Linked DNA regions of Homo sapiens: all the other regions are linked to region 1. The links are contacts of gene promoters, found by promoter capture Hi-C in blood cells and fetal thymus (Javierre and others, 2016). All regions are on one chromosome and are shown on one strand. Each heading gives the region's core, a stretch centred on a gene start or on the middle of the fragment in contact. The rest is flanking DNA. Distances are from core to core; before and after follow the strand shown. Region 1 holds the start of C19orf81 (chromosome 19 open reading frame 81). Region 2 holds the start of KLK13 (kallikrein related peptidase 13). Region 3 holds the start of KLK9 (kallikrein related peptidase 9). Region 4 holds the start of KLK4 (kallikrein related peptidase 4).

Region 1 (5,920 bases), core at 1,385-3,884:
TTATTTATTTATTTATTTATTTATTTATTATTTTGTTTGAGACAGAGTCTTGCTTTGTCGCCCAGGCTGGAGTGCAGTGGCGCGATCTCGGCTCACTGCAAGCTCTGCTTCCCGGGCTCACGCCATTCTCCTGCCTCAGCCTCCCAAGTAGCTGGGACTACAGGTGCCCGCCACCACACCCGGCTAATTTTTTGTATTTTCAGTAGAGACGGGGTTTCACCGTGTTAGCCAGGATGGTCTTGATCTCCTGACCTCGTGATCCGCCCGTCTCGGCCTCCCAAACTGCTGGGATTACAGGTGTGAGCCACCGCGCCTGGCTGCGGGAGGGATTATTTATATAAAATAATTAATAAAGGGTAGGTGGAGAATGTTTGGAGGGGTGAGGTTGGGAGAGGGAGGTGAGGTTAGATCATGCAGCTCTTTCAGTCCAGGTGAGGGGCTGAAAGTTTGTCTAAGGCACTGGGGAGCCCTGGGAGGGCCGTGAGCAGGGCAGGGGCAGGTCAGTTCCGGGCACAGAAAGACCACTCTGGAGCCTCACTTGTGGGGAGAGGAATGAGGGCGAGAGAATGGAGGATGGGGCGGCCAGGAGGCTGGGCCAGGTGTGGTGGCTCACACCTGTAATCCCAGCACTTTGGGAGGCTGAGGTGGGAGGATTGCTTGAGCCCCAGAGTTTGAGACCAGCTTGGGCAACACGGTGAGACTCCATCTTAAAAAAAATAAATAGCTGGGCGTAGTGGTGTGGGCCTGTGGTCCCCATTACTCGGGAGACTGAGGTGGGAGGATTGCTTGAGCCTGGGAGGTCAAGGCTGTTATACCGCTGCACTCCAGCCTGGGGGACACAGTGAGACCCTGTCTCAAAAACAAACAAACAAAAAAGGAGGCTGGGGCAAGGGTCCCAGCAGGAGAGGACGAGGTCTGAGTGGCTGCTAGAGCTATGGGAGTAGAGAGGAGAGGAAGGAGAGGCAGAAGGAATAGAACTTGGAGACAGATAGGCTGTGAGGGTCAGGTGTGCCTGTGGTCAAGGCAATCATGTCCTCCATCCCGCTGAGATAAAATTGCCAGCTGGAAATGGAAGACAGCTTGATGGGAGAGAAGCAGATGTGAAGATGCCAGGAGGGGGTCAGGGCCCCCAGAACTGAGTAAGACTATTTCAATCTGGACTGTTTTAATTGCTAATAACGGAAACGCAAATCAAATTGACCTAAGCATAAAAGGAAGTTTATTGATTGGATGAGGGCTTCAGGCATTGCTGGATCCAGGTGTTCCAATCATCTCCAGGAATCCAACTGTCTGTATCTTTGGGCTATGCTTCCCTCGTGTTGTCTTTGCTCTCAGGCAAGTTATCTCCCTGCATGGTGATGTGGTAGCACCGAGAGCTCCAACCCTGGCTCTGACCAGCCCCAAAACCACAGGGGAAAAACCCTGTTTTCTAACAGGTCCAGCAAAAGTCCAAAGGTTGACTTTGTAGCCTAGATTGATTCTTAAGCTCGCCACTGAACAAATCACTGAGGAAATCAAGGTGCCACCACCTAGAACGAATACTTAGTAAGCAGGAACAACAGACAGTCCAGAGACCATCTGGATGTGGAGAAAGAGGAAGAGAAAGAGATACAAGTAACAGAGACAAAGACTGCAAGGACAGACAAAACAAATAAGCGAAGGTCCAGCTTCCTCTCCCACAATTCCTGCAGAGAGCTCTGCAGACCCAGAGAAAGGGATGCTGAACAGGCACCTACACGGCTAGACCCCTTCTCTCTAGCACGAGAGGCCCCGTGAGACCCCAGACCCAGAAGTCCAGGCCCCCATCCTCTCCTCCCTCAGACCCAGGAGTCCAGACCCCAGGCCCTCCTCCCTCAGACCCAGGAATCCAGGCCCCCACCCCTCCCCCTCCCTCTGGAGGCACCATGGCAACCAGGCCCCCTGCCCACCATCCCCTCCCCACTAGAGAACCCACTTTCGTTGGAATCTCGCCTGTTTCTAACCAGTTCCTGGCTGGGGCAGGGATGAGCAGAGGGCAAGTGGGAACAGAAAGGGGATGACAGAGGGGAGGGGGCCTCAAGGGGGCAGTGGAGGCAGCTAGGAGAGGATAGAGATGGGGCAAGGAGACTGGTGAGAGGTGGGAAGACAGAGAGAGGGTGACGGGGTTAGGGAGAGGCAGAAAACGATGAAGACAAGGAGGGACGGGGGCCTGGGGAGATGCTGGGGAAACTGATGGAGACTGAAGAGATGGAGCCCAGGAGAGAAGGAGGGAGGAGGAGGGCAGAGAAATCAAGCAAAAGAGTGGTGGAGACGTGGGGACAGAGGGGAGGAGGCAGGGGGGCAGAGAGATGGGGAGAGAATGAGGAAGGGAGGTGGAGAGAGAGGGGTGGGGAAAGGGACTCTAGGAGACAGAGAGAGATAGGAGGAAAAACAGGGAAATGGGAAAGAAGGGATTGGGGCACACAGGGAGTCCCTGAGGTCAGGGGAACCCAGATCTCCACATGGTCTCAGCCTTCCAGTTCCTCTGTAATTCTACCCCGGGGCTTCAAAGAGGAGGTAGAGGAGGCAGCGGTGGGGAGAAGGAGCTGGGGTGGGTGGCCCAGGCAGAGCCTCTCTTGCCACCTTCCTGAGACATCCCTCACCCACCTTCCCAGGATGCAGCCAGAGGTGGAGCCCGTGTGCTTCCCTGCCATGGGCAGCCCCACCATGCACAGGAAGGCAGGTACTGAGCTGTGTCTTTGGGGGAAGGGGTGGACTTCCTCCATCCAGGCAGTGCGTAGTAGCCCGGGCTCACAGTGTGGCCTTAAGCGAGTCACTGGCACTCCAAAGTGAAAGCCATCCCTAGCATTCCTGGATTCACCAGATTCCTGGAGAGCGGCCCCCTTGGACCTCAAACTACATTTCCCATGAGCCTCTGCAGTTCCTTGGCCAATGCCCTGGACTCAGAACTACATTTCCCATGAGCCTCTGGGGCCTAAGCAACACCTCTGAGGCCATTCTTCTCCTAGGTAACCTCACTGTCTTGTCTCCCACCCTGAGCTCAGCATCTTCCCCCAAAGCTGCTCTCCTCCTTCCTGGTTTCCATTTTCAAATGGCCCCACCGCCAACCCAGTCACTGGTGCCATCCTTCCACCTCCCACAATTCCCTCCCACAGCCCATCAGGCCCTATCTTCCTGCCCTCTGACTCTCCCTTCCCCATTCCTTCCTCTCTGTCCCCGCAGCCCTGTCCCAGGTCTCATCCTCTTCCATGTGGACCCTCTCCTCACCTCCTCCCTGGTCCCCAGTTTCTCTCCTCCTACCTATCCCTCCATGGCTCCAGAGAGGTCTCTCTGACTTCCTGCAGTGATCCTGGCTGTCCCTTGCTCATAACACTTCCTAGCTTCCTGTCACCTCTAGGACAGAGACCCAAAGCTCCAGCCTGGCTTTTGAGGCCCTGTGTGGTCTGACCCCTGCTGACAACTTCAGGCTCCTAGCCCAGCACTTCCTGCTAGCACTCTGTGCTGTAGCACAGCTCATGCAGTTACACTCATTCAACATTTATGGAGTAGTATCTCAGTGAGGATGCATGTAACTGCAGGTAATAGAAAACCAAACTCAGGACTGGGTGTGGTGGCTCACGCCTATAATCCCAGCACTTTGGAGGCCGAGGTGAGTGGATCACCTGAGGTCAGGAGTTCAAGGCCAGCCAGCCTGGCCAACATGGTGAAACCCCATCTCTAAAAATACAAAAATTAGCCAGGTGTGGTGCCGGGTGCCTGTAATCCCAGTTACTAGGGAGGCTGAGGCAGGAGAATCGCTTGAACCCAGGAGGCAGAGGCTGCAGCGAGCCAAGATTGTGCCACTGCACTCCAGCCTGGGTGATGGAGGGAGACTCTGTCTCAAAAAACAAAACAAACAAACAAACAAACAAAAACACCCAAAACCAAAACTCACTGCAGCCTTGAGCTCCTGGCTCAAGTGATCCTCCCACCTCAGCCTTCGAGGCCGAACAAATGCCCTGATGGCAAAACAGGCGTTGTTTCTCTGCCTTTAGGTCTCTTTTAGTGCTTTTGAAGGCATCTTTCTTTTGGAGACCCCACAATGCACCATCTCTAGCCTAGACTGAGGCACCCACGTGACATGTAATTTATATGTAGCTCCAGAAAAGTCAAGTGGAGTTGAGTCGACCAGTTGGCTAGTTTTGTTGATCGACGTTTGTTCATTTCGATTTTGCTGTTTTCTTTGCAGCGTTGTGGAACCAATCACATTTTTTAGTTGATCAGGTTGCAAACTTCAGCATAGGCCATTAGAAAGCCCCTGGGTCCCAAGCATTTTGCCTGTAGTGCCTAATGGATGAAACGGCCTGGCTTGTTCTCATGCTGGGAGAGGAGACGTGAAACACGCCATCTCACAGATCATTCATAGCCTCCAATGGCAATAAGCGCTCTTTAGTCTTGGGGCTCAAGGGAATTCTGGGAAGTTCTTGCAGGTGACTCTCTTCTCTTTTGCTCAAAAACCTTGGCCCATGCTAGGCCCTTCATGGGAAACATCCTTCTCTCTGTCACCTCTTTATTTGGTAAATACCTTCTTATTCTTTAGGTCTCACTGTGGACACCTCCTCTAGAGAGCCTTCCCTGATTGCCCCTAGACCGGGAGACTGGGCTTTCCCTCCACCTTGTAACACTTTCATTGAAACACACATTGCCCTTTATCTGAGAGTTCTGAAAGGGCAGAGGTGTGTCTCATTCATCTCTTGGTCCCCAGCATCCTCCAAGGCACACAGGGGCCCTCTGAGATGCCTGTTAAAAAAATTTAACCAGCTACTTGGGAGGCTGAGACAGGAAGATCCCTTAAGCCCAGGAGTTCCTGGCTGCAGTGAGCTATGACTGCACCATGACCCTCCAACCTGGGCAACACAGTGAGACTCTGTCACCAAAGGAAAAAAAAAAAAGCTTGAAATGGTTGCATTTCCTCAATTTTTCAATAAGTACTTATTTTTAAGTTTATGCTTATGTTAATTTAATTACACATATACATTTAAATGTATTAAATACATTTACATATATTAAAATCACTGTTGTAACTAGAAATAGTTCTTATTTCTAATGTCATATTTCATGAGAAACTATTGTATTCACATTTTTTCACATGCATCTTTGATGCTGCTAGAGTTACTTTTTGATTCATTTAACGCTTGTACAAGGCTATTTTTTAAAATTAATTTATTGTGTTGAGACAGGGACTCACTTTGTAACCTAGGCTGGCATGAATTGACACCATTGTAGCTCACTGCAGCCTCAAAATCCTGGGCTCAAGCGATCCTCCTGCCTCAGCCTCCCAAAGTGCCGGGATGATAGGTGTGAACCACCATGCCCGGCCTATAATTATTTTTGAATATCATCTCATACCTAGTACATATTTAAATTTCCCTAATTATCTCAAAATTGTATTTTTTTATAGTTGGCTTGTTTAAATTAGGGCCCAAACAAAGTGCACACATTTCAGGCTTTATTCAATAAATACTAAGGACAACTATAAGCCTGGCACTTTGCTAGATGCTGGGGACGAAAACACAAGTCCCTGCCCTTACGTTGCTCAGAAGACGTAGGGAAGACAGAGTGTAATTAGGGAATCATAGAAATAAAGGTAAAATTGCAATACTATGAGTACAAACATACTGTGCTATGAGGAATGGCATCAGTGGACCCTCAGGGAGACTTGATTAGCCAAATGAGGGGGAAGAGAGATCCACGCAGAGTTACAGCATTGGCCAAGATCCTGCAGCAGGAGGGGTCAGAGAGTCCAAGTCGCAGAAAAACAGCGTTTTTGGACTGCAGCAGGTGAAAAGGACGATTGTGCTTGATCAGGTTTAAGACACTAGCACGGTCTGATCACGTGTGGTCTTATGGTCACTGGAAGGACTTTGGACTTTATTCATCCCACAGACAATGAAAAGTCCTG
Region 2 (5,920 bases), core at 1,475-3,974, 420 kb after region 1:
ACATTCTTCCAGTTGGTCTTCATCAGAACAATGATTGCTATTCATTTCTCTTCACATTTGTATGTATTCGTTTTTAAAAATCTCTCCACTTTGACTGTAAGCTCCATTGACAACAGGCACCTTAACTGCTTTATTCAGTACCATATTCCCAGGACCTAACACAGCGCCTGGCACACAATGGGGGCTCAATAAATAAATGCTGTGTGTGCCAGGCACTGTGTCTGGCATTGAAAGCACAGCAGGGGTCCGTGGGACAGGGAGAATCCAATCCTGAACATGCATGCCATTTTGTGACTGTGTGACCTTATGCAAATCACCAGCCTCAGTTTCCCCAGCTGTCAAGTAGAAAAAGTAATAGTTCATCTCTCATTGCGCAGTTGAAGAATTCAAGATGATCCTGCATTTCAAACCGTGCAGCACAGCAGGTGGCATGGAGAGCACTCAGTCAGTGGGAAATGTTATTATTAATTATTAGCTACAACAGGAGGTCCCTCTGCCTCCCTAGCTAGTTTCCCCAACTACAGGGCAAGCAGTTGGATTAGCTCAGTGGTTTGCAGTTAGGGACAGAAGTTGTCGGTGAGCACAGGATCATTTTAGATGGTAGAGAGATGAGATTTAAGTAACGTTAAATCGCACACTCAGACGCTGAACCAGCATCCAGTTCTCTTTTAAACCTGATTTTGTCAAGGATAAAGTCTCAGGATGGTGCTAATATGGTTTTAACACCTCCCTAATCCTCACTGAGCTCACTTTTCAAAGCCAGGAGGACACAGAAGCCTCATCAGGCCACCTAACATTTATTACACTGAACCATCTGCAAAAGTTGTTTTAGGAAGGTCAAAAAGGGTCAAGTATCAGCAATTTCAGGTGGTCCAACCCAATAAACATATTATTTTCTTTTCATTGTGCAGGATTTATTTCCTTCCTTACCTTCTATTTATGACAAAGAATTCTATTCTCTATTCAGGACAGTAATATAAAGTTGAACATGCTTTTGTTTGAGTGAAAAAAGAAGAAAAAAAGCTAACTTTAAGCAAATGATTAGGTCAAAAGTTATAAAAATGGTTTTCAGAGCCTCAAGTCCAGGATATGGACAGGGAAAACAACCTTGATTAGGATTCTGACTCAGGCATCGCCGGTGTCATTGGAGCAGGAGCCTTCTGTCTTTGAGTCCTAGGTTTCTCTGCCATGAAATTGGAGTAATTACAATGCACCTACCTCGCCAGGTTGTTGAGGACTCCACAAGGCGTAGCGTGTGGGTCTCCTAGCCTAGGGTGTGGCACTCAGGAGTGGCACGGGCATGAATCCAGGGAGTGTCGCCAGAGGAGAAAAGCCACCCCACCTTCAGGCCAAGGATGGTGCCAGGTGCCAGGCACCCACAGATCCCTCCTTTTTCAGGTCTTGGCTCAAGGGTCAAGCCCTTTGGGAAGGCCTCTGGTCGGGAAGCCGCCATTACATCTCTAGGCCCCTGGCTTGGCTCCTTGAAGTCTTCACCTCATGTCAAGATAATTATTAACTAATTATTTGGATAATTGTTTGAATAACATCTGCGTCTGTCCCCGCTAGACTCCAGGTGCTGAGAGCAGGGACTGTGTCTCTGCTTGTACAGCACCCAGCACAGTGGCCGGTGTTTAATAGCTGTTTGTTGAATGAATAAATGATTCATGAACGGGGTTTCCAGAGAACCTGCCTACAACGGCAGGGAAAGATGGGAAAGATCCATAAGGATCTTAAGGACTACCAATTTGGGGTGAGGTCACATAGGTTTGGGGTCAACCCAAGGATTAAAATAACAATCTAGAAGGTTCTGGAAGGGGCTGAGTATGAAGACAGAATACTAGAGGCCGGGCTCGGTGGCTCATGCCTGTAATCCTGGCACTTTGGGAGGCTGACGCGGGCTACTTGAAGTTAGAAGTTCGAGACCAGCCTAACCAACATGGCGAAACCCCGTCTCTGCTGAAAATACAAAAATTAGTTGGGCGTGGTGGCGGGCGCCTGTAATCCCAGCTACTCGGGAGGCTGAGGCAGGAGAATCGCTTCAACCCGGGAGGCGGAGGTTTCAGTAAGCCAAGATCGTGCCACTGCCTTCCAGCCTGGGAGACAGAGCAAGGTTCCATCTCAAAAAAAAAAAAAAAAAAAAAAAGGAATACTACTAATAAAGTAATAACGGCTAAGTGGCTAACTTTCAAGTCCCTTCTACCTGCGACATACTGAAGGCTCGACGCATTACCTCGTTTCAATATTCACAGTGACCTTCTCTGGTAAGCACTTATAGATTAAGCCCATTTTCCAGATGAAAACAATTTAGGCACAAAGCAGCTGCTAGGCTACTGGCTCAAAGCGGCAGCGTCAGGACGCGAACCCATGTCTTTCAGCTTTCCAGAGAGGACAGGAAGCCTTGAACGCGGGAGGGGCTGCTGCGAGGGTATTTTGGGAGGTGAAGGGTCTGGGGTCGGAGGGCCAACCTCAGCCGGGAAACCAGGTCACCCAGGGACAAGCAGGAAGAGCTCTGAGCTGTCCCCACTGGACCCGGCCCCGAGTGGGCGGGGGGCGGAGCTCGCGGCTCCCACGCCCCCTCCCCCTCCGGCCTGACCCCTCCTACCATTGTCCCGAATGGCCGCCGCGCCTCCACCCCCGCGCATTCTTACCTCCTGACAAGGCCAAGGTCAGGGAGGCGATCACTAGGGCCAGGGGCCACATGGCTCCGGGATCGGGAGGGGAGGGCAGGGCGGGCGGGGCCTGAGGAGAAGGTGAAGGGGGTGTTGAGGGCGTGCCCGGAACCTCCGCGTCTGAAACCTCTCTGCTCCTGAATGTCTCCTCGCCTCATTCACTCTTGACAGCCCTGACCCTGGAATCTGCCCCCCGCCTCCAATTCCATCCTTGGTGGGGGTGCAGTGGCGAGGTGGGAGGAACAGTGTGCAACCTCCTGGGGCTCCGGCGTGCAGCCCCTCACCCCAGGAAGCCGTCCCTCCTCCCCTGCCCTCTGGCGAGCTGGGTGGTCGGTGCACTCTCGCCCTTTTCCTCCAGAGTCTGCCTTCCATTCTACCCCTCTGGGTCTGTCCACACGCTTGGTATTAGCCCAAGTTCTTATCTGTCCGCGCCCTTCGCCTCTCTCCGTCTCTGCAGGTTTCTCTCTAGATCTGAGACTCTAGCTTCACTCTCCCTCTCCCTGACTCAGCTGCCCTTCTGCTTTCCCCATCCTTCCTATCCCCTCTTCTCTCCCCTCCCTGCCCTCCTCCGCTCCCCGCCCCCGCCCCAGGCAGACCCTACCTGAGTGAGGGGCCCACGAGGAGCGTCAGCCGCCAGCTGTCTAGAACTTCAGCCCCGAACCATGGCTTTTAACCCCTGAACTCCCTCCCCCAGCTCACTCAGCATTTCCTGGTCCCTGGCCTCCCCCTCTCCACCCCCAGTGGCTCAGCGGGATGTCTCCAGGCACCCCCGACCTGGGCTTGGCCCTCTGCTTGGGGCGGAGCTTCCAGGACGTGCTGGGACCTAGGTCTGACCCCGCCCAAGGCAGAGTTGAACCCACTGTGAACTTTCAGGCCTCAGGACCCAAAAAAGGGTAAGGGGAAAGCCCATTTCCTTCCCCCTACCCCGCTGAGTTCCATGCCCATCCCTAACTTCAACCCATTCTGCACCCAGTTTTCTAACCTCTTCTCCAACCCCATGCATAATTCTTAATAGGCAGTCAGCCCCCAGATGGCCGTGTTCTATCAGATTCCCACCTCCCTATCCATCCCTAACCATACCAAGTACTCCAGCCTGTTCCTCAACCCCAGTCCCATCTCCAACCTCATCTCAGGTTTAGCTCTCAACACATCCAGGTTCCAATTCCCAGTCTCATCTCAACCCTTTTTCTTTTGAAAGACACAAGGACACCCACAATTATCCCATCATCCTGCCTCCCTGCTCCCGCCAACCACCGGACACAAGAAGGAAATCATCAGCTGGGTGGATAGAAAATCAGCTCCCTCGGACTTGGATGGGGGCAGAGATGCGACCTGAGAAAGCAACATTTTCCAGAAATGGCCTTTTAGGAGCAGGGCCAGAGGGGGTGAGGGAGTCCACGGGGACCTAGGTGGAGAGGAAAAAGCAGGAGCCGGAAAGCTTTGAAGACGTGGATTGGGGGTGGGGGAGAGGAAGGAGGAAGGGGTGGTGTTTTGAGAATGAGTAGGTGTCTCCAGGAACTATGACTGGGTGGAGCCCTGAGTTAATCCTAGGGGGTGGAGGGGACAGGATTAGGGATTAAGGACTGAGGTGGGGTCAGAATTTGGAAGAAAGCCAGGGACGTGGACCAGATGAAGTTTGGAAAGAGTGAGAGAGTGGAGGTGTCACAATGAGGATAAAGAATAGAGATGGATGGGGCGAGGGCTCACATGGAAACTTGTACAGTCCTTATTGATGGAGTTCAGATTTGGATGTGGAGATCAAATCTAGTGTCAAAGGGTAACTTTTAAAACATGGTCTTACCATGACTCTCTGACATATATGAAATGAACATGTGTCAAAGATTGTATCTTGACTCATTAATAAATGGCAGAGCCAGTAAGATGTTACAAAGAGCCATATGCACAGAGACAACGAGGAATGCTGAAATGAATTTACAAATAGATGCAAAACTGGCTATTCCACACTGGGAGGAGGAGGGAAATCCATTGTACTTCCACCTGGCAAAATTCATGTAAACATTTATGGACAAGAATTATTTGCATTGCTCTCAGATACCTACAATTTAGAGTCATAAAGTGGCTCAAAGACAGGAAAGGGTACAGAGACCTCATAAAATCAGATAACCCATCTAACTTTGCATTGGCGACACCTCAGTGTCCAATGTTGGGTCCATTTCAAAGTATTTTGCTAAGAAGAAAAATATGGCTTAATATAGGAAATCAGTAGAGTCTATGGTTAAGGATGGGCCTGATGACAACATTAGGAATGCAATGAGTTTGGGGAGGTGAATGAAAATTGGATGAGGATGGGTATAGAGTTGGAGGTGGTAGTTGAGCTGGTTTTGGGATAGGATTAGATTGTAAGATGGGAGGTATCTAGGGATAAGTTGGTGTTGGGGTACTGTTGGGTTGGGGCTGAAGATGGAACCAAGATTGAGGTTTTGGATGGGGAAATGTTAAGATGTGGTTGAGCTGGGGTAGTGGGTTGACATGGGTGATGAGGACTGGCCATGAGGTTGAGTGTCTATGATGCAGTAGGTTTTGGTGGGGGTGAGCTGGGTCATACCCCACCTCTCAAGGTGAAAGAAAGGTCACTGTCTTTCTCCACCCTGGACTTCTCCCACCTCACAGGGCGGGGTCTGAGTTCACTTTTTGAGTGGAATTGTGTTCAGGTGGTGTGGCTGGAGGTAGGATGCCAGGTTAAGTGCGGCAACCAGCTTATGTGGGAAATCGGGGTACTTGTACCCTCCTGTGACCTGGGTCCATGCTTCCAGAGAAGCCTTTCTCACTTGGGAAAAGCTGGAGCCTGGAGTGAGGGTGGTTGGCCTTGTTATTTGCTGAGGGGTGAGTGCCAGGTCAAATTGATGTTAGGGGTTATGATTGGCCGAACGCGGGTTGGGTAGCTCTGGTTGAAGTGAGGTCATGGACCCACTGAGGGCTGGGCACCTTCCACCCCCTCACTTGATGAACAAGCCCACGGCTGAAAGTCACACACAAACTGGACCAAATCCAAGTGCGCTTCTGTCACAGGTGCAGGTCTTTCCTCCACCACAGAGAACCGGGCTGGAGAAAGAAGAAGAAAGGACCCGAAAAAGAGATGGTGTTCCTAGTGGTTCTGACCTCAGACTCTGGAGCTAGACTGCCTGAGTTCAGATGATGTGACTGCTCTGTGCCTCAGCATCCCCATTTGTAAAATGGCACAATCAATAGCACTTGCCTTATGGAGAAGGGTTAACTGGATTAATACCCAA
Region 3 (5,920 bases), core at 2,122-4,621, 360 kb after region 1:
TCCTCCTCCTCCTTTTTTTCTTCTCCTCCTCCTCCTTCTTCCACTTCTTCGCAGTTCATGAAATAATGGCACATCTTAAAAATGCTAGCATCTTATATTTGGTTAAATATATCGATTGGCAGATAGATAGACTGACAGAGAGAGAGAGGAGAGAGAAAAGGAGAAGACAGAGATGAAAAGGCAGAGACAGAGGGGTGAGGGAGCAAGTTTCAGAGAGAGTTCTGGGCCAGGTCATACCCTTGGGGCTGGACACGGCCCCCCAGCCTGAGATGAGACACTGCATGCCTGGGGAGACACAGGTCTGGCTGAGGTTGAGGGGCTGCACAGCAGGACTCAGACGTGCCTGCCTGGGCAGGCGGATCAGCATGATGTCATCATTGTGGTCATTGGCGCTGAGGTCCTTGTTGAAGCCAGGGTGGGGGAAGAAGTCCGTAACCCGGAACAGCTGCTCCGGACCCTCCCATTTCCAGAGGTGGTGCTCTCCAAGGCGGACCCACAGATACCTGCTGGGACAGGCCTCAGAGGTCAAGCTGGGGGAAAGGTAAAAGTCCTTTCAGCCCCAGCCCTCTTTTCCTGTCCATCAGGGTGCTGTGTGACCCTCTGCAAGCCACACACCCTCTCTGCACCCTCATCATCTATGTCTGGCCCAGGGTACTGTGATTTTAAGCGAGGCACACACCTCCTCTGGGTCCCTGGTCCCCACTCTGATGTTTTGTGTGTCTCCATCTTTGTAGCTCTCCCCACAAAGCCCCCGCTCCTAGTCCCAGGCTGAGTGAGCCACCTTCCTCCCTACTCACCTGGAGCCTTGGTGGTGACTTGGGTCCCTAGGAACGGTGTGGGCACGGGGGACCCCACCTACCACATAACAACCGCCCCACCCCTGCCCCCACAGGTCTGGTGGCTTCTGTGGGAGCGGCTCTGTATGTCTAAGTGGTGTGTGTGTATACGTGTGCGTGTGTATGAAAGGGGATGGGATATGGAAAATCCCCAAATTGGGGGTCATCTCTGGCCTCAGCTTTTCCTGTCTATCATATCCTTCACCCTTCAATGCATGTCTTCCTGGTGTCTAACCTTAAGCCCTCACCACAGTCTCAGCGCACTTGTTTCATTTCTGGTCCATGCCCTAGACAGCTGGGATCCTTTCGGGGATGACAAGTCCATTCCCCAGCCTCTGACCTCTGACATTAGGCAGCAGGCTAATGACTGCGAATTCAGGGTTGGGGAACCAGAAACATCTGTGTCTGTCTCTCTCTGTCATTCTTGCTGTCTTGGCTCTGGATCTGGAAAAGTAGTCCTCACCCCTACATCCCTTCATCCCCCTACCCTTCCCCTGCCTCTCACTCTCTTCCACCTTCATATCTCTGCATTTCTCCTGCTTCACTTTCGGCTGAAATCTGAACATCGTTCTCCCAGTCTGATGTATAGGCTTAAGTTAAAGGAGGTTCCATCATGGAGCAATGCATGATGGGAAATTCCCACACAGCATCTCTTACCACAATCAGTGCTTTACTCATGGAGGGAAGAAAATTGGAACAGTATGGATGGTCACTTTTCAGAGGCAATGGAGAGAGGATTCCTGCATCAGGTGGATTCCAGGATACTATTAGAATGCCCAGAACCTAAGATTCTAGAATTCTCAGATTCCGACACACTATTATCCATGATTCTAGAATCTAGAGGCTCAAGGTTTAGAGTTTTATGAATCCAAGATTCTAACATTCCAGATTCCCCTGGATCAAAAAAACTCCAGGATTCTAACATTATCTGAATTAAATCTAAGATTTGAACATAGAATTTTAATGTTCTAGGACAAAAAGACTAGAATTTTGGCTGGGCGCGGTGGCTCACGCCTGTAATCCCAGCACTTTGGGAGGCCGAGGCGGGCAGATCACAAGGTCAGGAGTTCAAGACCAGCCTGGCCAATATGGTGAAACCCCCGTCTCTACTAAAAAAAAAAAAAAAAAAAAAATAGCCTGGCATGGTGGTGCATACCTGTAATCCCAGCTACTCAGGAGGCTGAGGCAGGAGAATTGCTTGAACCCGAGAGGCAGAGGTTGCAGTGAGCTGAGATTGTGCCACTGCACTCCAGCCTGGGAGATAGAGGGAGACTCTGTCTCAAAAAAAAAAAAAAAAAAAAAAAAGAAAGACTAGAATGTCATCATTCTATAAATCTATAACCTTAGAAATTTAAGAGTCTGGGATTCAAATAGTTTAAGACTACAGAATTATCTGAATCTCAATATTCTAGGATACTGTGAATCAAAGATTCTAGTACTGTGAGTTTCAATATTCAATGAATCTAGAAAGCTCTGAATTTAAGATTCTAGGATCACACTAGCCATTATGGCTATTGAACACTTGAAATGTGGCTAGTCCATTTTGTAACAGGCTATGTGTGTAAAATACAGAACAGATTTCAAAGGCTTAGTACCAAAACAAAAGTAAACTGTATCGTTCATACGTATTTAAAAATTGATTACATGTCAAAATAAGTTTTTGGGTATGTCAAGTTAAATCTATTAGAATTAATTTTACTCATTCCTTATTTTTTAAATGTGTCCACCAGAAATTTAAACTTACACATGTGGCTGGCATCATAATTCCTCTGGGCAGTGCTGACCCAGACTGCTAAGATTCTAATAGTCTGCGAATCTATGATTCTAAAATTTGCTGAGGCTATTGCAGAATTTCATAAATTCAAGATTTTAGGATTCTACGATTCTGGATTTCTCTGGGTCAGTCTCGGATTCGAAGAGCCTAAGTTTCGAATCTTAGACTTCTCAAATGAGATATTGCTGGTCTCTAGAATTTTAGGATTTGGGAGGCTACCCTTCCTACTTCTAAGAGTTGAACTTGTGGTATCAGAAGTGGAGGCTCCGCACTTCTGGCCTAAAGCACCCCTCACCCTCTCCTGACCCCCAGCCTCTGTCCCTCCCCAGCATGGCCAGCCTGGGTCACTCACGGCTTGCGGCAGTGGGCAGCTGTGAGCAGCCAGCGGTCACTGATGAGGGTCGCCCCACAGAAGAGCCGAGTAAGGTGGAAGAGGCCGGCCTGCCAAGGCTGGGAGTTGGGGCGACATTCCTCGGCCCCGATGGCACGGGTGTCTGCCCAGCCATGCCCTGGGGTGGGGATGAGGGACAAAGGGGTCAGCGAAGAGCAGGCTGGGAGGGCAGGGAGAGGATGCTGAGAAGCCTAGAGGGCAGGAGGCAGAAGCCTGGGATGGGAGGGAAGAGCAAGGTGACCTTAGTACAGCCGTGAAGGGGCAGCCAGCCTGGGAGCCTCACCTGCCAGCAGAGAGAGCAGAGCACAGAGGAGTCCCAGCTTCATGACCCCTGGGCACCTGGATCCTGGAACGTGCACCCGGCGTCCAGTGCTTCTTTATGGTAAGCCATGCCATCTCCTTCCTCCTCCATGGGGCCGCCCCTGTGATTAATCGGGGTTGGGAAATGTACCTGGGGGAGGGGGAAGCCCTGGGGCTGTGACAGGGGCCTTGGGAGAGGAGGTAAGTGCAGGGGGACCCCCCTTTTGGGATGAACTGGCGGCTTGCTGGGCCAGAGCTTGACTGAATGGAGGAGGAGTGCTGGGGGTGTGGAGAGGTTGTGGGCACCTCCTCTGGGGTCTTCAGAGTGGGAGACCTCATTCCTCATCACCTTAGGCTACAAGATACAGAATCTTTTGTGTCCTGGAAAAGGAGGGAGATCCTTGAAGCCTAAGGTCCTGGGGTGCAGCAGGTTTATTTTGGATAAAGCAGTGGTGTGCAGAGACCAACCTCCCACGGCAGGCTGGAGGGATGTGCAGGGGGACCACCCAGAAAGGAGGCGAGGGGTGGAAGACAGAGTCAGGACTCAGACACAAGAGCAAAAGATACAAAGAGAGGGAGGTACAGGCACAGAAGGACCCAAGATGAGAGGAGGAGTGGGAGGAGGAGACAGAACACGGGAAAGATTGAGGGAAATCCAGGTGGAGTGAGGCAGAGACCACAGGCAGCTGCACAGGTTTACACACCTTGCAGAACCTTCCCTGCCCTGGGGATTTGGGCCTCTTCCCACAAGGACAAGGCCCTCTCCTAGAATGTTGAGAAATCTGGTTCCATCTGGATTAACCCACTCTTGTCATAACCTGCCCCCTTCCCCACGGCTCCACCACCCAAGGACCCAGGTGCCCAACCTTCCAGGTAGCAAGTGCCCTGTGCTCTCTCTTAATACATCCTGATCTTTGCCAAATCCTGAGAACATTTGCTATATATTTTTTTCATCCATCTCCCTGCCCCCCACCCCATTGTCCCTTCCATCACCCCATCCTCCCTGCCTCTCTCCTCATCATTCCTTCTCACCAGGTGGACAGCTTCTGGAGGGCTGGGCCCAGGTCTGACTCATCTCTGTGTCCCAGCATCACCCCGTTCCAGGCGGAACAGGGCTTGCAGAAGTCCTCAGGAGATGTTCATTGAATGAGTGAATGTCTTTCTCCATATCCTTCTTTTCCTGGTGAACTCCCACTCATCCTTCAACACCCAACCTCAATTCTCCCTCCTCCAGGAAATCTCTGAGATCCTCAGGCAGAGTCCATCTTTGCCTCCCCTGGGCACTTACGATCCCTTCCACTTTCTCCTGCTCACAGGCCTGGTTATGAAGCTGGGTCTGGGCTCCCCTTGAATGTTCTCTCACTGTGTCGTCATGGTTTGGAGCATGGACTCTGGAACTGAACCATGTGTGTCCAAATCTCAATGATTAGGTGTGATTAGTGATGAGGTGTGTGACTTTGGGCAAGTCACAAGACCTCTCTCAGTTGCTCCATCTGTTTTTTGTTTGTTTGTTTGTTTGTTTGTTTTCCAAAACGGAGTATTGCTCTGACACCCAGGCTGAAGTACAGTGGCGCGATCTCAGCTCACTGCAACCTCTGCCTCCTGGGTTCAAGCAATTCTCCTGCCTCGACCTCCCAAGTAGCTGGGACTAAAGGCGTGCGCCAAGACACCTGGCTAATTTCTGTACTTTTAGTAGAGACGGGGTTTCACCATGTTGGCCAGTCTGGTCTCCAACTCTTGACTTCGTGATCCGCCTGCCTCAGCCTCCCAAAGTGCTGGGATTACAGGCGTGAGCCACCGCACCTGGCCTGCTCCATCTGTTAAGTAGCAGTAATAACGAGGGTCGTTGGGGGGATTAAGCAAATTTACACACATGAAGCACAACAGTGTCTGACACATGGTAAATGTTCAATGTCTCTTCATCCCCTGCAGAAACCTGTGGTGCCTTTATCATAGCTCATTTCACCCTTGCCTGCAGTTGTCTCACTCCCTTTCCAGACAGGGAAGTCCTTGAGATCAGGGACTGGGTATCCACTATGTGCTAAGTGCCACCTTAACTGCTATTAAGAGCATTTTAGACCAAGCGCGGTGGCTCACGCCTGTAATCTCAGCACTTTGGGGGACCGAGGTGGGTGGATCACTTGAGGTCAGGAGTTCAAGACCAGCCTGGCCAACATGGTGAAACTCTGACTCTATTAAAAACACAAAAATTAGCCAGGCATGGTGGCGGGCGGCCTGTAATCCCAGCTACTCGGGAGGCTGAGGCAGGAGAATTGCTTGAACCCGGGAGGCAGAGGTTGCAGTGAGCCTAGATCGTGCCACTGCACTCCAGCCTGGGCAACAGAGCAAGACTCTCAAAAGAAAAATAAAAAAAAAATGAGCATTTTAATAGCTACCTTTATTGACTGTGTTCTCAGTGCCTGGTGTTAGGTGAACTTTGCATGTATATTATCTCATTTAATTATCCTTTTGTTGTTGTTGTTTTTTGTTTTTTGACACAGGGTCTCTGTTGCCAAGGCTGGAGTGCAGCGGCATGATCATAGTTCATTGCAGCCTCAACCTCCTGGACTCAAGTATTCCTCCTGCCTCAGCCTCCTGAGTAGCTAGGACTACAAGGTG
Region 4 (5,920 bases), core at 2,002-4,501, 260 kb after region 1:
TCTGCCTCCCCATGTCTGTTTCTGTTTCTCTCTTCCTTTGCTTCTCTTTATTCCTGTGTTTATTTCTCTGTTTCTCTCAGTTTCTCTCTCTAGTTGTCACTGTCTCCCTGTGTGTCTCTCCATCTCTGCATCTCGCCATGCGGCCCTGTGTGTCTCTGTCTCCCCCTTCTCCACCCTTCCCTGAGTCGCCTGCCCTCCCCTTTCCCCTCTCTCACGTTGCAGGAGTCCTTCTGGTCTTGCCCTCCGCCGGCGCAGAACATGCTGGGGTGGTACAGCGGGTCATAGAGCTTACTGCAGACCTCCTCAGACACCACCGACACGTTCACGCACTGCAGCACGGTAGGCATTCTGCCTGGGACGCAGAGCTCTGGGTCAGCCCCCGCGACTGGGCAGAGGACCTCCTTGAAGAGGGCAGACACACACCCGTGAGCTCACCGTTCGCCAGCAGACCCCAGCCAGAAACGAGGCAAGAGTTCCCCGCGGTAGGGCACTGCGAAGCAATGCTGATGCTCCGGATGGTGTCAGACTCGGACACGGATTCGTCCAACTTGATGAGCATGAGGTCGTTAGCGAGCAAGGGTCTGTTGTACTCTGGGTGCCGTACGGAGAGGCTGGCCTCCACCATCTGGCTCCCTGGCTCTTGGTCGGCCTCAAGACTGTGCAGGCCCAGCCCGATGGTGTAGGAGCTGTGGGCCACGGAGGGCAGGTCAGTTTTGTGGCAACTACATCCTTACCTCCATTCTCATCTTCAACCCCATTCCCATCCCCATCTCCTAACCCCAACCCCACCCTCTTCGCTAAACACCCTAAGAGCTACTTAACCATGGTCTCAAATCCTCATTCACAAAAATTCAGGGACAAGAACTTGCCTTAGTTCACTAGAGACTCAGCACTGGGCTGAGATTTCAAGTCAGGACTCTCTGAGTCCTTCCGAAGCAAGATTCCCGCCTCCCAGCCCTTCCCTCTGGGGCTCCCCGGATCCAGGCTCATTCCGTCCTCCTCCCAGAGCCTTCACCGCTGTTTCCCCCTGAGCACCCCAAGATGAGCCTGATATTAGGCCCCGCCCCCGGACCCAGGCCCTGCCCACTCCCCCTACCTCTGCACTCACTTCTGGAAACAGTGTGCGGCTGACAGCACCCACTGCGGATGCACCAGGACGCCCGAGCAGAACAATTCGTTTTCCATGACCAGTGCCGCCTGCCAGGGCTGCGAGTGCGGGCTGCAGTCCTCGCCGTTTATGATTTGGCTGCAGCTACCAGAGACGAGCGATCCTGAGGGCGGAGTCAGGGATGGGATCGGGACCAGGAGGCGGGCCCAGGGTTCCTGGGGGTGGGCTTACCGAGCAGGGGCGTGGTCAGAGGTTCAGGAGCAGTCAGGGCTCCTCGGGGCGGAGTCAGGGCTGGGAACGGGCTCAGGAGGCGGGCCCAGGGCTCTTGGGGGAGGGGTTACCGAGCAGGGGCGTGGTCAGGGCTTCAGGAGCAGTCAGGACTCTTGGGGGGCCGAGTCAGGGCTGGGGGCGGGCCCAGGGGGCGGACCCAGGGCTCCTGGGGGTGGGGTTATGGTGCAGGGGTCATGATCGGAGCTTCAGGGGCTGGTCCAGGATATAGGCCTAGGGCTCCCAGGGGCGGTGATCACGGTGCAGGAGCCTGGTCAGGGATTCAGGGTAGTCAGGGCTCCTGGGAGGAGAGTCAGGGCATGGGGGTGGGCTGAGAAGGCGGGATCAGTGCTCCTAGGGTTGGGGTTACAGCGCAGGGGCGCCATCAAGGCTTCAAGAGCTGGGTTATGGCTAGAGGCAGTCTCAGAAGGTGGGACCAGGGCTTCTGGGGCGGAGTCAGGGCTCTGGGGTGAGCTCTGGAGGTGAGACTGGTGCCATCGCGGTGCAAAGCCACGGTCAGGAGGGGTTCAACAGAGGAGTCTAGGCTCATAGCAGTAGGATCGGGTCCTTCGGGGTGAATTAAAGCTCAGGGGGTGGAGTTGTTGCTGGGAGCAAGGATCGGGTCACTTGTCTGCGCAGACTGATGCTCAAAGAGTCGGTCCTGCGCCGAGTCACTCCTATCCTCTCCCAGCCTTGCCCACAGTCACACCAAGCCACAAGCCCATGCACACCAAAACACCGTTTTATAGTCCTGTGAGGTGAGTTCCTTGGGGATGGGAGAGGGGGATCTCAGGACTGAAGACCCAGGAAGCAGGCACAGATTCCCAGCAATGGATCACGCCCCAGGAAGCACAATCTCCTGCACCCTCGGCTTCCCCTGTCCCCATATCATCATTACACTGTTGTCACTCCACCAGATATTCAGAGGCACAAACTGTCAGAGTCTCACAGGTACAACCACACACCCAGGCACACTGCCACACACAAATTTACCACGATACAAGGAGTTGCAGGGGCACAGCCATGGGGGACGGATAACACGGTACCGTCTCACAGGCAGCTTTGCAGTCACAAGCAAGAGGACACTGAGTCACACCTGAACATTAACAAACACTGTGCCCCCAAGCACGGACAGACACACACACGCATACTCAGATACCTGCGACACCAAGGATGAGGTACCCCAGGAACCAGCCCCAGGGATTTCCTGCTGTGGCCATCACGTCAGCACCTGGGGATGAGGACTGAGACTTAGCCGTGTCTGGGGATCTTCAGCCCAAGTCTCTCCATCCCTCTCTTTGTCCCTCCCTTTCTTCCCTCTGGGACGTTATTAGGTAGGCAAGAGCCTAGACCATCTACCCCCTCTCCCATCCATGGACCCAGAACCTAGAGAGACAGATTTAGAGACTGAGAGAGAAAAAGAGAGAGAGAGATGGGAAAAGAGAGAGAGAGAGAGAACTAGGTAGAAAGGAAAGTTTAGAGAAAGCATCTAGCCATCTGTGAATGGGGAGAGATGGTGTCTAGCCACCCACAAACAAGCATGGAGGGAAGACACACAGAGAATCAGAGCCGGAGAGACAGAGTGCTTGAGAGATATCCTCAGAGACAGTCTGAGAGTTAGACATGGAGATATAGATTCAGAGAGACAGAGAGACCCCTAACTAGAGACAGTGACTCCTAACTAGAGACAGTGAGAGATCTGTCTAGAGAGATGTGGAGACAGAAGGCACAGAGGCTGAGAATCCAGCGACATGGAGCTGTAGGGAGAGTTGGATCATGAACACTGCAGGCTTTTAGTGGGGGACCACCAGGCCTCTTACCCGGCCACCTCTGGGCTCCTGGATTCCACTGCTGGGCTGAGCTCCAGCCTGCTGCCTCCCGCAGGGGCCTCCTTGGGGCTTATAAGCATCCTCAGCCTGGGCTGGCCTGCCCCCAGGGGATGTGTTCCAGGGGTCAGGTGCTGCAAACTTCCAGCTCAACTCTCTCAGGCTGCCTCAACTCTGACCAGGCAGTGGTTGGGGGCCCAGAAGGGGCTGGCAGCAGGGTCTAGGGACCCAGGGAGGAGACCCCTGCCCAGATCCTAGACTCCACTCTCCTTTTTCTTTCTCTCTCTCTCTCTCATTCTTTCTCTTTTCATGTTCTTATTCTCTCTCATGAGATACCTCTCTCTTGCCTGTATCTCTCATTTTCTCTTTCTCTTCTTCTTTCTTTCTCTCATTCTCTCTCTCATTATTTTTCTCGTGTTTTCTTTCATTTCCTCTCATTCTCTCCTGTTCTCTCTCATGTTCTTTCTCTTTTTAAATTAAATCTCTCTCTCTCTCTCCCCTCCTCCTTCATCCCTCTCTTTCTGTGCTTCTCCAGCAAATTTCCCCAGGTTCGTATCCAGCCTACATCACGAACTATTTTTGGAACCTTGGGCAAGTGACTGCACCCCTGTGAGCCTGTTTTTCCAACTGTAAAACTGGAGTGACCATTATGCCCCATTTCCCAAGTGGATTCAAAGAGGTAATTCAGGGAAAGGCACACAGTGCCAGGCACATTGTAGGCTCTCGGTGAGCGGGAGAACTAAAAAGTCTTCGCTCAGTGAAAAGCAGCTGAGTGCCTACCACACTCCGAGCTCTGCGGCAGGTGCTGGGGCCACAGGAGGAACCAGCAAAGTCCTCGTCACTGGGGATCGCGTCCTACCCGGGGGCACAGACCATAAAGGAAAACTGCAGGGACCAGCATATAAGGTGGTGGTCGGGGAGACTCAGAGAAGGGGAACATTTAAGCTGAGATCCCAGGGAAGAGGAGGAGGAGGGTCGCCGCAGCAGGGGCGGTTGCGGGGTGCAGGGGAGAACTTGGCTCCAGCCAGAGGAGGGCAGGGCGGGTAGGAGGGCAGGGCGGGTAGGAGCGCAGACCGGGAACCGGGCGGGCCTGCAGGAGTTTACGTACCAGGATTAAGGAGCTTGGGTTTTACTTAAGTGCAATGGATTTTAAGCACGAGGATGGAGTGACATAATCTTATTTACTTTTTAAAAACTTCCAGCTTGGAGAGTGATGGTGGGGGCGGGGCGGGGGGCAGTGGCAACAGCCCAGGTGGGAGGTGACGGGGTCAAGGGAGAAGAGAGGTGAATGGACACGGGGTCCCCTCTGCATGTGGAGCCAAGTTACTGCCCGATGGATGGAAAGTGGGGGGCCAGGAGCAGAGGGGCCAAGGATGGCGTGGAGGCTTGGTCTGCTGGCTTGCGCTCTACGGATCTTGTGGAGACGCATAGGTGCGGGAAGGGGGGTGGGGGGTGAGAGGGTGCCGTAGACCGCGGAGGGTGCACGGAGGGGCAGGCCGAGGTCAGGACTGCCGAGAAACAGCGGGGACTCATCAGGGGAGAGGTGGTGTTTACAGCCACGAGGCCGGGTGAGATCATCCAAGGAGTGGGTGGGTGTAGACCGCGGAGCCGGCGCGGGTGAGGGATAGTGCCCGCAGGTGACCGCGACGAGGCAGGAATGTCTCTGTGTCTCTCTGTCTCTCCTGGGTCTCTAACACTCTTTCCTTCTCCTTCCTTACTTCTTTCCCCCACAGCCCACCCCGTGTGTCTGTCTCTCTTTCTCTCTGGCTCTCTTTTCCTCTGCCTCTCTGGTCCCATCTCTGTCTCTCTCCCCCTTGTCTCTGTTTCTCTCACCTGCCAGACTGGAAGCATCCCAAGTGAGACCCTCCCCCAACTCTGTCCTGGGCCCGTGCGCCCCCAGATAACTCTGGGCAGGACGGGACATAGGCTGGGACCACAGAACAGGAAGCCCTGGCAGGTTTCTGTCTCTGTCTCTCTTTTCCCTGTCCCTGTCCCTTTCTCTCTCTGATCCCTTCTCTCTCGCTCTCCCTCTGACCTCTGTCTGTGACCCTCTGATCTCTGTCTGTCTCTGTCTGCCCCTGTGTGTCTCTCTTTCCTCCTGTCTCTGTCTCACCTTGCCTTCTCTCTCTGTCTGTGTCTCTGCACCTGTGTCTGTCCATCTTTCTCTGTGTCTCTCTCCTCCCATCTCTGTCTCTGTCTGTGGCTCCGCACCTGTCTCTGTCCATCTTTCTCTGTGTCTCTCTCCTCCCATCTCTGTCTCTGTCTCTCTGTCTGTCTCCGCACCTGTCTGTCCATCTTTCTCTGTGTCTCTCTCCTCCCATCTCTGTCTCTGTCTCTCTGTCTGTCTCTGCACCTGTGTCTGTCCATCTTTCTCTGTGTCTCTCTCCTCCCATCTCTGTCTCTGTCTCTCTGTCTGTGTCTCCGCACCTGTGTGTCTGTCCATCTTTCTCTGTGTCTCTCTCTCCTCCCATCTCTGTCTCTGTCTCTCTGTCTGTGTCTCCGCACCTGTGTCTCTGTCCATCTTTCTCTGTGTCTCTCTCTCCTCCCATCTCTGTCTCTGTCTCTCTGTCTGTGGCTTCGCACCTGTCTCTGTCCATCTTTCTCTGTGTCTCTCTCTCCTCCCATCTCTGTCTCTGTCTCTCTGTCTGTGTCTCCGCACCTGTGTGTCTGTCCATCTTTCTCTGTCTCTCTCTCCTCCCATCTCTGTCTCTGTCTCTCT

What was found. Contacts are between HindIII fragments. The CHiCAGO score rates a contact against its expected background, and 5 or more counts as called.
Region 2: the fragment with the promoter of KLK13 here is called in contact with the fragment with the promoter of C19orf81 in region 1 in 8 of 17 cell types (M1 macrophages, M0 macrophages, naive B cells and 5 more); the score reaches 10.8 in M1 macrophages.
Region 3: the fragment with the promoter of KLK9 here is called in contact with the fragment with the promoter of C19orf81 in region 1 in 2 of 17 cell types (M2 macrophages and M1 macrophages); the score reaches 7.3 in M2 macrophages.
Region 4: the fragment with the promoter of KLK4 here is called in contact with the fragment with the promoter of C19orf81 in region 1 in 3 of 17 cell types (erythroblasts, total B cells and neutrophils); the score reaches 11.1 in erythroblasts.

What each region holds. Positions count from the first base shown.
Region 1 is chr19:50,646,811-50,652,730 of GRCh38, forward strand. It overlaps C19orf81 (chromosome 19 open reading frame 81), which reads left to right and starts at 2,635. Exons shown (of 5, transcript NM_001195076.2): 1 at 2,635-2,701. The coding sequence starts at 2,635. It also overlaps a transcript of SYT3 not described here. RefSeq lists an enhancer at 1,519-1,568. The HindIII fragment of the contact is 10,880 bases long and covers 1-4,909 here.
Region 2 is chr19:51,062,368-51,068,287 of GRCh38, forward strand. It overlaps KLK13 (kallikrein related peptidase 13), which reads right to left and starts at 2,725. Exons shown (of 5, transcript NM_015596.3): 1 at 2,649-2,725. The coding sequence starts at 2,700. The HindIII fragment of the contact is 5,030 bases long and covers 1-4,105 here.
Region 3 is chr19:51,006,221-51,012,140 of GRCh38, forward strand. It overlaps KLK9 (kallikrein related peptidase 9), which reads right to left and starts at 3,372. Exons shown (of 5, transcript NM_012315.2): 1 at 3,285-3,372; 2 at 2,963-3,119; 3 at 238-503. The coding sequence starts at 3,327. RefSeq lists enhancers at 359-858, 3,255-3,755. The HindIII fragment of the contact is 11,592 bases long and covers 1-5,920 here.
Region 4 is chr19:50,908,144-50,914,063 of GRCh38, forward strand. KLK4 (kallikrein related peptidase 4) reads right to left here and starts at 3,252. Exons shown (of 6, transcript NM_004917.5): 1 at 3,196-3,252; 2 at 2,535-2,606; 3 at 1,109-1,271; 4 at 436-686; 5 at 216-352. The coding sequence starts at 2,595. The HindIII fragment of the contact is 22,926 bases long and covers 1-5,920 here.